Regions from separate parts of the Homo sapiens genome. Here region 1 is linked to region 2. The links are contacts of gene promoters, found by promoter capture Hi-C in human tissues and cell types (Jung and others, 2019). All regions are on one chromosome and are shown on one strand. The core of a region is centred on a gene start or on the middle of the fragment in contact, and the rest is flanking DNA. Distances in the headings are between cores, read along the strand shown.

What was found. The method cuts DNA at HindIII sites, captures the fragments that hold promoters and counts their contacts. A contact is called where the count stands out against the background at its distance.
Region 1: a fragment that was not itself captured here is called in contact with the fragment with the promoter of ACSL6 in region 2 in 1 of the 25 tissues and cell types used here (aorta).

The regions. Positions count from the first base shown.
Region 1 is chr5:131,959,760-131,965,214 of GRCh38, reverse strand. ACSL6 (acyl-CoA synthetase long chain family member 6) reads left to right here. Exons shown (of 21, transcript NM_001009185.3): 18 at 2,537-2,680; 19 at 4,594-4,695. Among named protein-coding and RNA genes, the nearest start is that of MEIKIN, 17 kb to the right of the region's middle. The HindIII fragment of the contact is 3,442 bases long and covers 1-3,354 here.
Region 2 is chr5:132,006,843-132,013,156 of GRCh38, reverse strand. It overlaps ACSL6 (acyl-CoA synthetase long chain family member 6), which reads left to right and starts at 1,499. Exons shown (of 21, transcript NM_001009185.3): 1 at 1,499-1,652. The coding sequence starts at 1,604. It overlaps LOC124901062 (a long non-coding RNA gene), which reads right to left and starts at 1,701. Exons shown (of 2, transcript XR_007058933.1): 1 at 1,612-1,701. ACSL6-AS1 (ACSL6 antisense RNA 1) reads right to left here. Exons shown (of 2, transcript NR_183256.1): 2 at 6,121-6,314. RefSeq lists a silencer at 5,068-5,187. The HindIII fragment of the contact is 8,903 bases long and covers 1-4,856 here.

The DNA.
Region 1 (5,455 bases), core at 384-2,883, 48 kb after region 2:
AGGTTTGGGTGGACATTTTGAGGTGTTGAGTTAATGAGGCACGTGAATGATGTTGAGCCCAAGGCAGGCTGAGTGGGCTGGTAAATGGATCTGCCCCTGCTTGGGCCTGTGTACTTCCCTTTGAGAAACCCTCATGCCTGCCCCAGACAAAGATGTATCTCCAGTGAGTGCCCTGGCCCAGGGACTCTGCTTAGGGGAGATATGCATGATTAGACAGTTCCCAACCCAATGTGATGGGCATGAGCTGGGGGCACACTGGGGGCACACTCACCTCGGGAGAGGCAGAGGAGGACAGGCACCTACTGCATCCAAGCCTTAGGATATGAGTCATGTTCCAAAGGTGGGATTGGGAAGGACAATCAGGGCGTGATAGTAATATATGCTGAGTAGAGGCACTAGACATGGGAAGCAACTAATTCCAACTGAAGACCCATAGGTGTGGGAGAGAGAGGCTAGAGAGGTCAGCAGGTCCTGAACATCTGCAGAAGGTGGATTGTCCTGTTGGCTCAGGGAGCTTAGGCTTCAAGCCCCCTCACTTGCATCAGCCCCTTCCAAGGCCCTGCACTTCATTTTACCTGGTTTTTCTTAGAAAGGGCCCTCAATATTGTAAAAGCTTGAAGTCTCACAAATCCCTGGATCTGCTGCTGATGCCCTGTAACTTGAATGAAACCATTCACCATTTAGGGGGTAATATGAAGCAAATAAATGAATTCATGTAAAGCACTTAGTGTTGTGCTTGAGCACAGGGCCTAAAGTTGCAGGCAGGTAGTCTGTGAGAGTCCATTTTTTAAATTATTATTTTTAAATGATTTTTGAAATTTAATTAAAATTTATTGCAGCTATTGAGATACTTATTATTCTATATTTCTCATGTAAAGCAAATCATGCATTCTTGACATAATTCAACTTAATCATGATGTGACTTTTTAAATAATATTTTTCCTAAAAATTGTGTTTGACCTTTCCATTTATATTCACAAATGAGATTGATCTGTAATTTTCCTTTTATATACAACCCTATTATGGTTTTGTTGTCAGCTTATTGAATGAGTTGGTAAGTGGGTTTTTTCCCCATTTTTTTGGAAGAGTATGTTCAAGCTTTGAATGATTCATTCTTGAAATTTAGGTAGAAATCATCTATAAAGACATTTGTGCTTTTAAAAACGTTATTTTGAAATCATGTTAAATAGATCAAGGAATAAGCATAGTCTTCTGGTCCAGAAGGATCGGGATTCAAATCCTGGTTCCCCAACTTCTAGCTGTGTGGCTTTGGAGGAGTTAACTAAGCTTTCTGATCCTCATTTTCCTCATCTGTGAAACAGAGGTGACAACACCCAGCTAATGGACCATGAGGACCAAATAAGCTGGGGTAGGGAAAGTGCCTGATGTCTAGCCTGGGTTTTGAGCAAAACAGAGTCTGCTCATTTTTCTCTTTTGGAGAGATTGCTCTGGCACTGGCAGATCAAGCAGATGGAGTGGAGACAGAGTGTGTGCAGAAGTCCAGTCAGAAAGTGGTTTTGCTGGGAGGAGGTGGTGGATATGAGATGGATTTGTGAGCAAGGACAGGTGAGCCTGACCACTGGAGATCCCAGGAGAGGCAAACAACAAGGTCATCTCCAGGTTTGGGGTTTGGAGGCTGGGGCAGGCTTGAGAAGCTTGGTCGTGAGTTTCATATAGGAGCATGTTACATCCTCTGAGACAAATAGCCTAGTTTTTGAAGCATTCCAAGGGTATTTGGGTTCTGGATCTGGAGCTCAGTGAAGAGCTGGAAGCTTGAACTGACTTGGGAGTGACCAATGAAGAGAAAACGGTGGTTACTCCAAGGTGCATTGTCAGTGGCGGTGAGGGGAAAGAGGCCCACGTAATCACCTTGGAAGCTCAGAAAGGTCAAGGAGAGTCAGGGAGGTGAGGACGGGTCCTGGAGGCCAGTGGCATCAGCACTCCCTGTCCAAGGAGGTGATCTGCCTGCTGCAGAAGTCCTACAGGGGCCTGGGCTCCTAGTGCCATCTGGCATGTCAGGTAGGAGTCACAGGGGCTCTGTCAGGTCTGTGCTATATGCCAGGGGATGCAGAGGCTGCTCTTTAGGGGTGGAGACAGTAGCTGGGCAAGAGACTTGAGTGTGGTCTAAGGGAGTGAACCAAAGATGCTGGTGAGAAAAAGGGCACCTGGAACAAGGGTGTGTGCAAGAGGGGTGCCCTGATGGAAGGGCGGTGGGCCTCCAAGAAGGAGGAGGTGAGGATACCTGCTGCTAGGCATGAGGGTGGCAGTGGTGGGAGGACTGTGTGGGGGGCTAACTGCTGAGGGGAAAGGACAGTGGATGCTCACGGCCCAGCAGAACTTGGATGCCATCAACCTGCGGTGTACAGTGGTTCTCTCCAGGAGCCCTGCAGCTCCCTAAGAGCAGACACAACAGATGGAAAAGAAATCGGGGTGGGGTCTGCAGGGTGGGGTAGGGCAGGGAGTTACGGCACTGAGGAGCAAAGGTTCAGGCTTGAGAGTGCCATGTTCTTATAAAGCTGTTTGTCCAACTCTACAGGCAGGAACTCTTAAAATTATTGATCGGAAAAAGCATATATTTAAACTTGCTCAGGGAGAATATGTTGCACCCGAGAAGATTGAGAACATCTACATCCGGAGCCAACCTGTGGCGCAAATCTATGTCCATGGGGACAGCTTAAAGGTGAGGCCTCTAGGCTTCAGCCCTCCCACATATCCTGGGCATGCTGAAAAACCCAGATTAAACATTAACCTCCAATCAGGCACCAGGATTCTCCTCCGCATTTTAAAACATGAGAGAAAACTCCTTTTTAAAGGAGAAATCTTACTTATAGTTTGTTAAAATGTAATTAGGTCAAGTAAATTGTCTGAAGTAGTACTAATGAACATTCCCATTCCTTTTCACTTATGCTCTACTTACTTCCAAGGATTTTTGAGATAAAATACTAGAGCAAGATTCAGGGTTTCTACTGTTTTTATTTTTATTTTAAAAATTATTATTACTATTATTATTATTGAGACAGGGTCTCGCTCTTTCACCCAGGCTGGAGTACAGTGGCACAATCATGGCTCACTGCAGCCTCAATCTCCCTCCTGGGCTCTAGCCATCTTCCCACCTCATCCCCTTCCCCCTCCCTCCCCATCCCCAATAGCTGGGACTACAGGTGCACACCACCATGCCCAGCTATTTTTTTTTTAATTTTTAGTAGAGACAAGGTCTTACTATGTTGCCCAGGCTAGTCTCGAACTCCTGAGCTCGAGTGATTCTCCTCCTGCCTCAGCCTCCCAGAGTGCTGGGATTAGAGGCATGAGCCATCACACCTGGCCTGTTTTGATTTTTTTAATATGCAAATGAACTTTACAAATTAATGAGTACTGCAAAAAAATGTACTAATGGTACTAATACTAATATAGGTTACTAGGATTCAGTTATTTGGAGGAGTTTTATACTTATTTTCCTTTCAATACTATTTAGATTTAAAGTCAGAAAGATCATGAGTATATTCTATGATATCTAAGATATCAAATATATTCACTCTGTCACCCAGGCTGGAGTGCAGTGGCACAATCTCGGCTCACTGCAGCCTCTACCCCCAGGGTTCAAGTGATTCCCTTGCCTCAGACTCCCGAGTAGCTGGGACTACAGGCGCCCACCACCACACCTGGATATATTTTTTTTTTATTTTTAGTAGAGACAGGGTTTCACCACATTGGCCAGGCTGGTCTTGAACTCCTGACCTCAAGTGTTGTGCCTGCCTCAGCCTCCCAAAGTGCTGGGATTACAGGCATAAGCCACCATGCCCTGCCTGATATCAAATATATTCTGTACTATCATTGCATTTCTATAAATATTATGAAATTATTTTCAAAGAAATGCTTTAAAAATCAAAATAGGCCTGGCATGGTGGTTCACGCCTGTAATCCCAACACTTTGGGAGACCGAGGCAGGAGGATCACTTGAGCCCAGAAGTTCAAGACCAGCCTGGGCAACATGGTTAAACCCTATCTCTACAAAAAATACAAAAATTAGCTACATGTGGTGGCATGCACCTGTAGTCCCAGCTACTCGGGAGGTTGAGATGGGAGGATCACTTGGGCTCAGGAGGTCGAGGCTGCAGTGAGCCATGATTATACCACTGAACTCCTGCCTAGGCAACAGAGTGAAACCTTGTCTCAAAAGAAAAAAATAAACAAAATGAAGTCTTTCATGAATGAAGATCGTATTAATGAAACCATTTCAACGTGGTTTGGTAATCCTGGGAAACATTTTGGTTCAGAGAATTTGGATCAGAGAGTTGTTTGCTCAGCCTCCTGAAGATGTGCTGATTTGAGATTGGCATGAGAATCAAAGGTGCATATCAGTCTAACTTTACTGATTCTTAATGTCCTTATTTTTTCATATAAAACTAGGGGAATATATCAGAAAATGAATGGTATGATATATTGGCAGAAAGATTTCATGACATCAACAAATGTTTTATAAACATATACTTAGTTTTTGAAAAAGGTGGAGTCTGAGAATTTTAATGCTGGACCACAAATAACCACTTTAAATGCATTTGTCATGACTGTGTTCTCCTTTGGTGAGCACTGCAGGCCTTTTTGGTAGGCATTGTTGTGCCTGACCCTGAAGTTATGCCCTCCTGGGCCCAGAAGAGAGGAATTGAAGGAACATATGCAGATCTCTGCACAAATAAGGTTGGTATCTTGGGGCTGTCTCCTGAAAGGTTACTGAATGTTTTATGGTACCACATAATGAGAAGACAGAAAAGTTGTAGACCAGTGAAATTCGAGCTCGTACGAAATTTCTAACATTACTTTATATATAGTGGGGATTCTAAACCAGAGATTTGTCTTTTTGTTACTGAAGAAACTCATATTTCTTCTTAGAAAGATTGACAAACGTTTGGATTTTAAGCCAGGAGACATCACAGAAAGCTTATCCAGCCCTGTTGCTTTGTGGCTTAGAGGAGAGTCCAGGGAGGGGGGTAACTTGCCCGAGGTCACACAGCTGGTTAGCAGCAGAGTCAGATGTGAGCATAGGCTTTCTGACTCACCTGCCATGCTCCTTCAGATGTAAGGTGGATTTTGTGTCTGCTGGGTGTAGACAGCTAGTCATGGAATAGAAAAAGTAGCACAATTCTTTCTGCTTAGAGCATTAGCTACTCACACCTTCCTGAAACCTTCTAATGGCACATCTAGAACTCTGTGGAGGAGGTCGCCATGCTGTGACTCAGTGTAGCCCCTTGAGTCACATGGTCCATTTCTTAGTAGTAGCCATAGACCCTCCCTCTCCTACGGGACCCTGGGCCCTGGGCTCATCTAGGGGTAGCAAGACTCACCAGGCTGACCAAAAGCCTGCTTTAAAAAAAAATTGAGTGGTCCCTTAGCCCATTCATGGTCACTCCTTTGGCCATTTCAGGTACTTACTTGCCAGATGAGAGGTGGTAATTGGAGT
Region 2 (6,314 bases), core at 250-2,749:
GCCCTGCCAAGCTTGAGATCCCAGCAAAGTCCCTGCCAGGCTGTGGCTGAGTTCAAGCTGGAGCAGCTCTCCCAGGAGTCCAGATCCTATGATGGAGAAGGTGTAGGATCCTATTGTAAAGATTGGAAGTGACTCAGAGGCACACATCTGCACACTTGCACCACTACAAGGTGCACACAGGCCTGGGCACACACATGCCATGTACTCGTACTACAGATACAGGCCCCCCCACACACCCAGCTGCTGAGCTGTGAGCCCACATGCACTCATGGCTGATGGTCTCTGGTGGGCCTGAAGAGATCTCATGCTCTTCCACTCTCTGCTTCCTGACTTCTGCTCTCTGGTTTTCTATCCTCTTCTTTCTGGGCTGTGGCTCAGCCAGCTCCTGGCCTGGGAGGGCTGCGTATAGAGAAGGCCCGGCTGCCTGAGCGCTGTCCTCGGTGCTGGAGTCCTGGTGGGCTCTGCATGCTTGAGGAAAACAAGCAAGGGCATTGGGAAGAGGTGATCTTGCTTGGAGGTGCAGATGTTCATGGGGTGCCCACCAGGATGCCTACCCTTATTATTTCAGAAAATGTGCAACTGGGCTTCCTCCTTTCAATGGCAGACACTGCAACAGGTGTCCAAGCCCTCAGCCCAGCAGTGTGGGCATCTGTGGCTGTGTGTGGCTATATGGCCATTTATTGTGGCTATGAGGGGCTTCTTGAGACCTCGTGTGCCACATACAGTTGTGTACGAAGATCATGATTTCCTCATGAGACACCTGTGATTCCATGTGGCTGCCTGTGACCATGTTACTACTGGTGAACACATATGGCAGCCTGTGATCACACTGAGTCTCCTGTGACCTTGCGTAGCCTCAGACCTGAACTCGTGCGTCCCCAGATGATCTGGGCACTATCTGGTCTAGCTGCCTGATTTGTCAGAGCCTAGGTGAACACTTGCCACTCCCTCCCCTCACTGGTTTGCAGAGGTGGCACCCGGAGGCTCCCCATGTCTGCAAACTCGGGTCCTAGGGGGCGTTGGTGTCAGCGGGCAACAGCCCACAGGAGTGTGCACCTCCTAGGACAGGTAACCGCGACCCGGCTGCCATTCGAGCCTGCCCAGCCATAAAACCCAGGCTGCGAGTCGCGCGGGGGCAGGGTCGCGTGTTGATGGGGTGGGTGGCGGCGGGGTGGGCTCAATGTCACGCTCTGGCGCTCGTCGCCCGTGCTCCCCCTTCCAGCCGGTTTCCGCAGAATGCCAGGTACTGACGTTGGAGAGCGGGGCCGGAGAGGGCTGGTTCGCTCTGCGGCCGGGCCCCTCCCCCGCCCGGGAGCTTGGCGGTTCCGACACCGCGGTCAGTGCGGGGCAAGCCCCAGACCCGGCCGGCCAGGCTGCAGGGCAGGGAGTAAGGCTCGGTTGCGAGTGCGCGCCGCGCCCTCCCCCTTGAGCCGTCTCCGCAGCGGCGCGGGGAGGCGGGAGCTGCGGGGCCGGAGGGCGGGGGCTAAAAATACCCGGCAGCGGCGGCGGCGGCGCGGCTACTGCTGGGGCTGCTGGGCTGCGGGGCTGCGGGGCTGCGGGTCGGGGAGGCCGGGCCGGGCCGGGCCGGGCCCCGCTGACCGCCATGCTGACCTTCTTCCTCGTGTCGGGGGGCTCCCTCTGGCTATTCGTAGGTAAGTGCCCGTCCTGTCCGCGTCCCGGACTCCCATCTCCCGCAGGCTATGAGGTCTTCGCCCGAGGTGGAGGTGTTACATCTCCGCGGCCGCCGAGCCCCCATCCCCTGCTGCTGAGCTGTCCCGTCAAGGTCCCCAGGGCCGCCTAAGTACACCCTCCGCCCCCAGTTCTCGCGGGCTCCGGGCCGGGTTTGGGGAGCACCTGGGTCTGCGGAGGGAGATATAGGGCTTGCTCTCTGCGACCCCACCACAAACCCCCGCCGAGTTCTTGCGTCCCCCTTCCCTGATGGCAAGGACCATCCGCGGATCAGATTAGGCCCTGAGCCAAGGCCAGGAACAGACATTGCGTCCTTGTCCATCTCCTGGGACCAGAAACCGAGGGTGTTGGTCCCCGAGGTCCCACAGCAGGTCAGCTATGTAACCCGGACTGACCTAGGCTTCCTGATCCCGGCGAGGGGCTTCCTCACGACCCCTCCCTGCCCGTCCTTCAGCCAGAGTACAAGATTTCTGTAAGGTAGGGTTCACCTGGCTCCTCTGCTCTGCCCAGGGCTGCTGTGTCTCCACTGTTTCCAGACCCCTCCCCTCCACCTCACAGGAGTCAGCTTCACCACTGCACTTCTTAGGCGGCTACAAGGACCCCTGCTCGATCCCGCCTCCGCGCTTACCTCCCTCAACCCCCCATACACCCACACCTGGAGTCTCACCACAGGCCCTTTTATCTGCCAGTTCTACCACCTGCACCGGCTACTTCCCCTCTCTGAGCCTGGGGTCCTCCAGAGTATAATACCACTAAAGGATCTCCACCTCCACCCCAACCCCCATGTGCAGATTCAGCCTGATAATTTGTGTGCAGTGCTTGATCCTTAAATTGGCCTTAAACCTGTCCTAGGCCACAGCAAATGCTCTATGAATGTTAGTGTTTATTATTATCTCACATTCAAACAGCACCATCAGAAGTGGTAATAAAGCTTTTTCTGAGCCAAGGAAGGGGAGGAAGTTGACCCTCTTGAAATCTTTACCTGAGGCTTTGTACGTGTTATTTAATATTCATGGAAAACCCTAGGAGGTCGGTGGCACCATCCCTTTTTTTACTGAGTTCAGAGGTCAATTGACTTGCCTAGTGTCACATGGATATTTGGCAGACTGGGATTCCATTCGAGGTTTTAATTGATCAACCAATGCTAAGTGCTTGGCTGGATCAGGCCTGAACCTGGAGGGTTGGTGGGCCTAGTAATCACTTCCTTCACCCCCACCATTTCCTTAAGTTAGGCCACAGGGACACTTCCCCTGAGCTGGGAGAGTGAGTGAAGCCTCCCTAATCCCCTCAGCTCCCTAAGCTCCTTCTGTCTGCCAGTGTCTGTGACTGGCTGTGCAGGGGCACTCTGGTCCTGAGGCACATCCAGCAGACAAGGGCAGGGCTAGAGCTGGGGTTGGAGGTAAAGGGCAAGGATAATTAAAATAATGGTGATGGTGGTCGTAACAGCCACCATTTAATGCCTGAGTGATGGATGGTCTCAGAGCCTCTCCCCACTGCCAGGACCCCTTTGCCCTACCCTCAGGAGGCCCCACCCAACCATGGGTCCAAGGTCAGCTCTCTGAAGACTTGATCTTCTGTGGCTGCAGGGAGGTGTCTAGGGGCTGCAAGACCACTTGTGACCGGGGTCATCAGCAGCCTGTGAGAAAAAGTCCCTCACCCTGTGGGGTCCTTGTCTGTGAGCAGGGTTAGCTGGCACTGACTCAAAGTGGAGTCCTGTTTCCTTGTGGAGCATTTCCTAAAGTGGTCAGCTCCCTCCTCTAATGGGAAACTGGGGAATCTGCCTCACTGAGAGACTATACAGGGCCTCAGAACCGTCAAGCAGGAGCGATTCTTGGGGCAGGTAGTGGCTGCTTCCACAGAGGCCGAGCTTCCCAATGCAAAAAGCAAGAGGCTGAGGCTGGTCTATGGTGCTTATTGGATAGAATAACCCAGACAATTGCTGGGGCATTTTAAGTTATGTATCCACCCTCCTTGAGACTCCACCTGGCCCCCAGCCTTTCTCTGGTGGCAGAAGAGACTCCTGAGTTAAGAGCTGTAGTTCTGTGAGCACACCTGAGAACATGCTCTGCCTTGTCATCTCCAGGGTCCCATGGTCCCACGGCAGCTGCCAGATCCCTTCCACTCAGCCAGTAACAGGAGGCAATGTCTCTCTTTAGTAGAGTTATGTGCTTTTTGCCACCTAACCTGGCCCTAGGGAGACAAGGTAGGGCCAGGCAAGGGTTTCCCTCAAGGGCCCTCAGGGAGAGATGACATAAAGTCGGGGATGGGGGTGTGGCAATGCACCAGGAGGAGGAGCTGACTGTTGTTTGTGGGAGGTAGCCATCTGTTCTGGGCTGTGTCTGTCCTGTTGCCTGCTGGAGAGGCCAGCAATGAGTCCTGGGCCAGCCCAGATCTCACCTGTGTGTTGAATACTAAACAAGGAGACAAGTAAAATAAGTCCAGCATGAGTCAGATGCTAGGTCTGGCTTGGGGAAGCATGCCCTCAGTGCCATAAACACCTAGAGGACAATGGGAGCAGAGGATCAGAGCTTCTGCCTGCCTGTACAGCACCTTTGTGCAAAGTAGGAAGAAGTCTCACTCTTGGTGGATAACTTTCTAAAAGGGCACACCTTCCTCTAGGCTAAGGCAGCCCCATGCCGCAGGGTCTAATCTGTTCAATCATATACCCAACCATCAGTGACATATGAGTGGGCTTCTGCAGCATTCAGGGGAATTTGTCAGAGATAGGGAGGCCAAGATCCAAGTGGAGGAAGCCAGACTAGCAGAGTTTGTGGAAGAACTGCAATGGGGGATGAGTCTTCAAGGTCTTGTGCCTGAGCAATGTGGGTTGTGGGAGAGGATTCTGGAGAAGGTTTTATTTGGATGGTAGAGGATCCCTCCATTTAGCTGCTGAGTCAAGAGGAAGAGAGTGGAGTCCAGGAGGGTAGTAGGAGGTCGTTATGATGTTATGGATAAGAATAGATGTGGTCCAAGGATGGCTTGAGTCATGGCTGGGCTCCAGTAAGGAGAAGAGATAAGCCCCCACCCCTGGCCTCTGCCTTAGGAGAAGTGGGGCTGGCCCTGGTGGGGCGAGACAAAGTTGCCCGTCTAAAGAATGGTTTGGCATGCTCCTGGCTATAGATGCCTAGGGCAAGCATAGACTTGCACACTTTGGCTTAGTTCAGGCCTGTGAGATCCTCCCCTTACCCCACTCTGGGCTCCCATTAGGACAGAGAACTGACTTGAGGTCTAGGGCCACCCCAGGGGTTTGGAGATTGCAGTTATGAATTGGGACAGATGGTAGAGCTCCAGGCAGAACAGGTGGCTCTGTGGCCAGCTGGGGACATGCCTCACAAAGAAAGCCTGAATTTGTACAAGGTGCACCAGCATGGAGCAGGATTTTGCCCGCAGCACCTTCTCACAGCTCTCCAGCCTATATGGTAAGAACATACTGACACCAGGGGGCAGCAGAACCCAGTCATTATGCTCTCCAGCTATTGTTCTGTCCCTTGTGGTTATAAGGATTCATGGGTTGACCTTCAGAAGGCTGAATTTGGCTCAGCTACAGCCCCAGATGGGACTCAGGACTGTCCCATACATGGGGTGAGTGATCATGAGGCTCTGGCTTGTTTATAAAAATGGGCAAAAGTTACAGGCTTTTGTATAACAGAAGCTACACTGTGTATCCAGCCAGCACTGGGCACATAGTAGGCACTCAAATACTCATTAAGTACTAGGTGTGTGTGGAGGGGTGTTTTTATGGGATTAACTATTGCAAACAGGCTGACTTGGCTGTTGTTTCACTGAGCACCTACCATGTGTCAAGCACCCTGTCTATGATTCTCCAAACTTTCCTTCCATCCTCCCACAACACTGTGTTGTGTTCTCCCCATTGCCTAGGTGAGGCCCTGAGACTCAGCGAGGTTCAGTGGTGAAGCAACTTGTAAGAGCTGTGAGTCAGGCCACATTCTCAGACTTTCAGTCCAGGAAGGGACCACCAGGCATGATCAGCCAGCCATGTTAGCTAAAATTATAATAACTTGTATTAGGCTTTCCTTAAAGGGGATCCAGGATTCTGACATGCAGAAAGGGAGTAGGAAAAGAAAAGGCATTCCAGGCCAAGGGACCTGTGTGAGGGAAGATTGGCAATAGGACTGAATGAAGTTGAAGGACCAATTCTGCTGGGCCAGTGAGGTTGCCAGAGGTGGGCTCTGCAGGCCTAGGATAACAGGCCAAACAGCATTGGCTTTATTCTGTGCAGCGGTTATGTCAAGGAGGTGTGGGTAGAACTGGGCATGTGGATGACCAAGGTGACACTATTCCTGTGCTCCAGAAGCCTCCTCCACAAGTCCATGGTCTCCTTGAGGGCAGGGCCAGGTGTCTCATGTCTATGTCCCCAACCCAGAGTTGGGCACACAGGGTACATAAGAGTTTATTGCATAAACTAAAGAATTCCCTGAGCGTAATTTATTTTAATAATGTGTTTTATAAGCTGTTTCCTTACCACAAGTCAATCAGTAAACAACAGATTTTGAGTGTGCTCCTGCTAGGATGCTAGGCTCTGTGCCCAGGTGGGGGATGATGCCAATATGTTAGAAGCAGTAGGGAAAAGCAGGTGTAAACTCCTTGCAGGCAGGGCCAGGTTA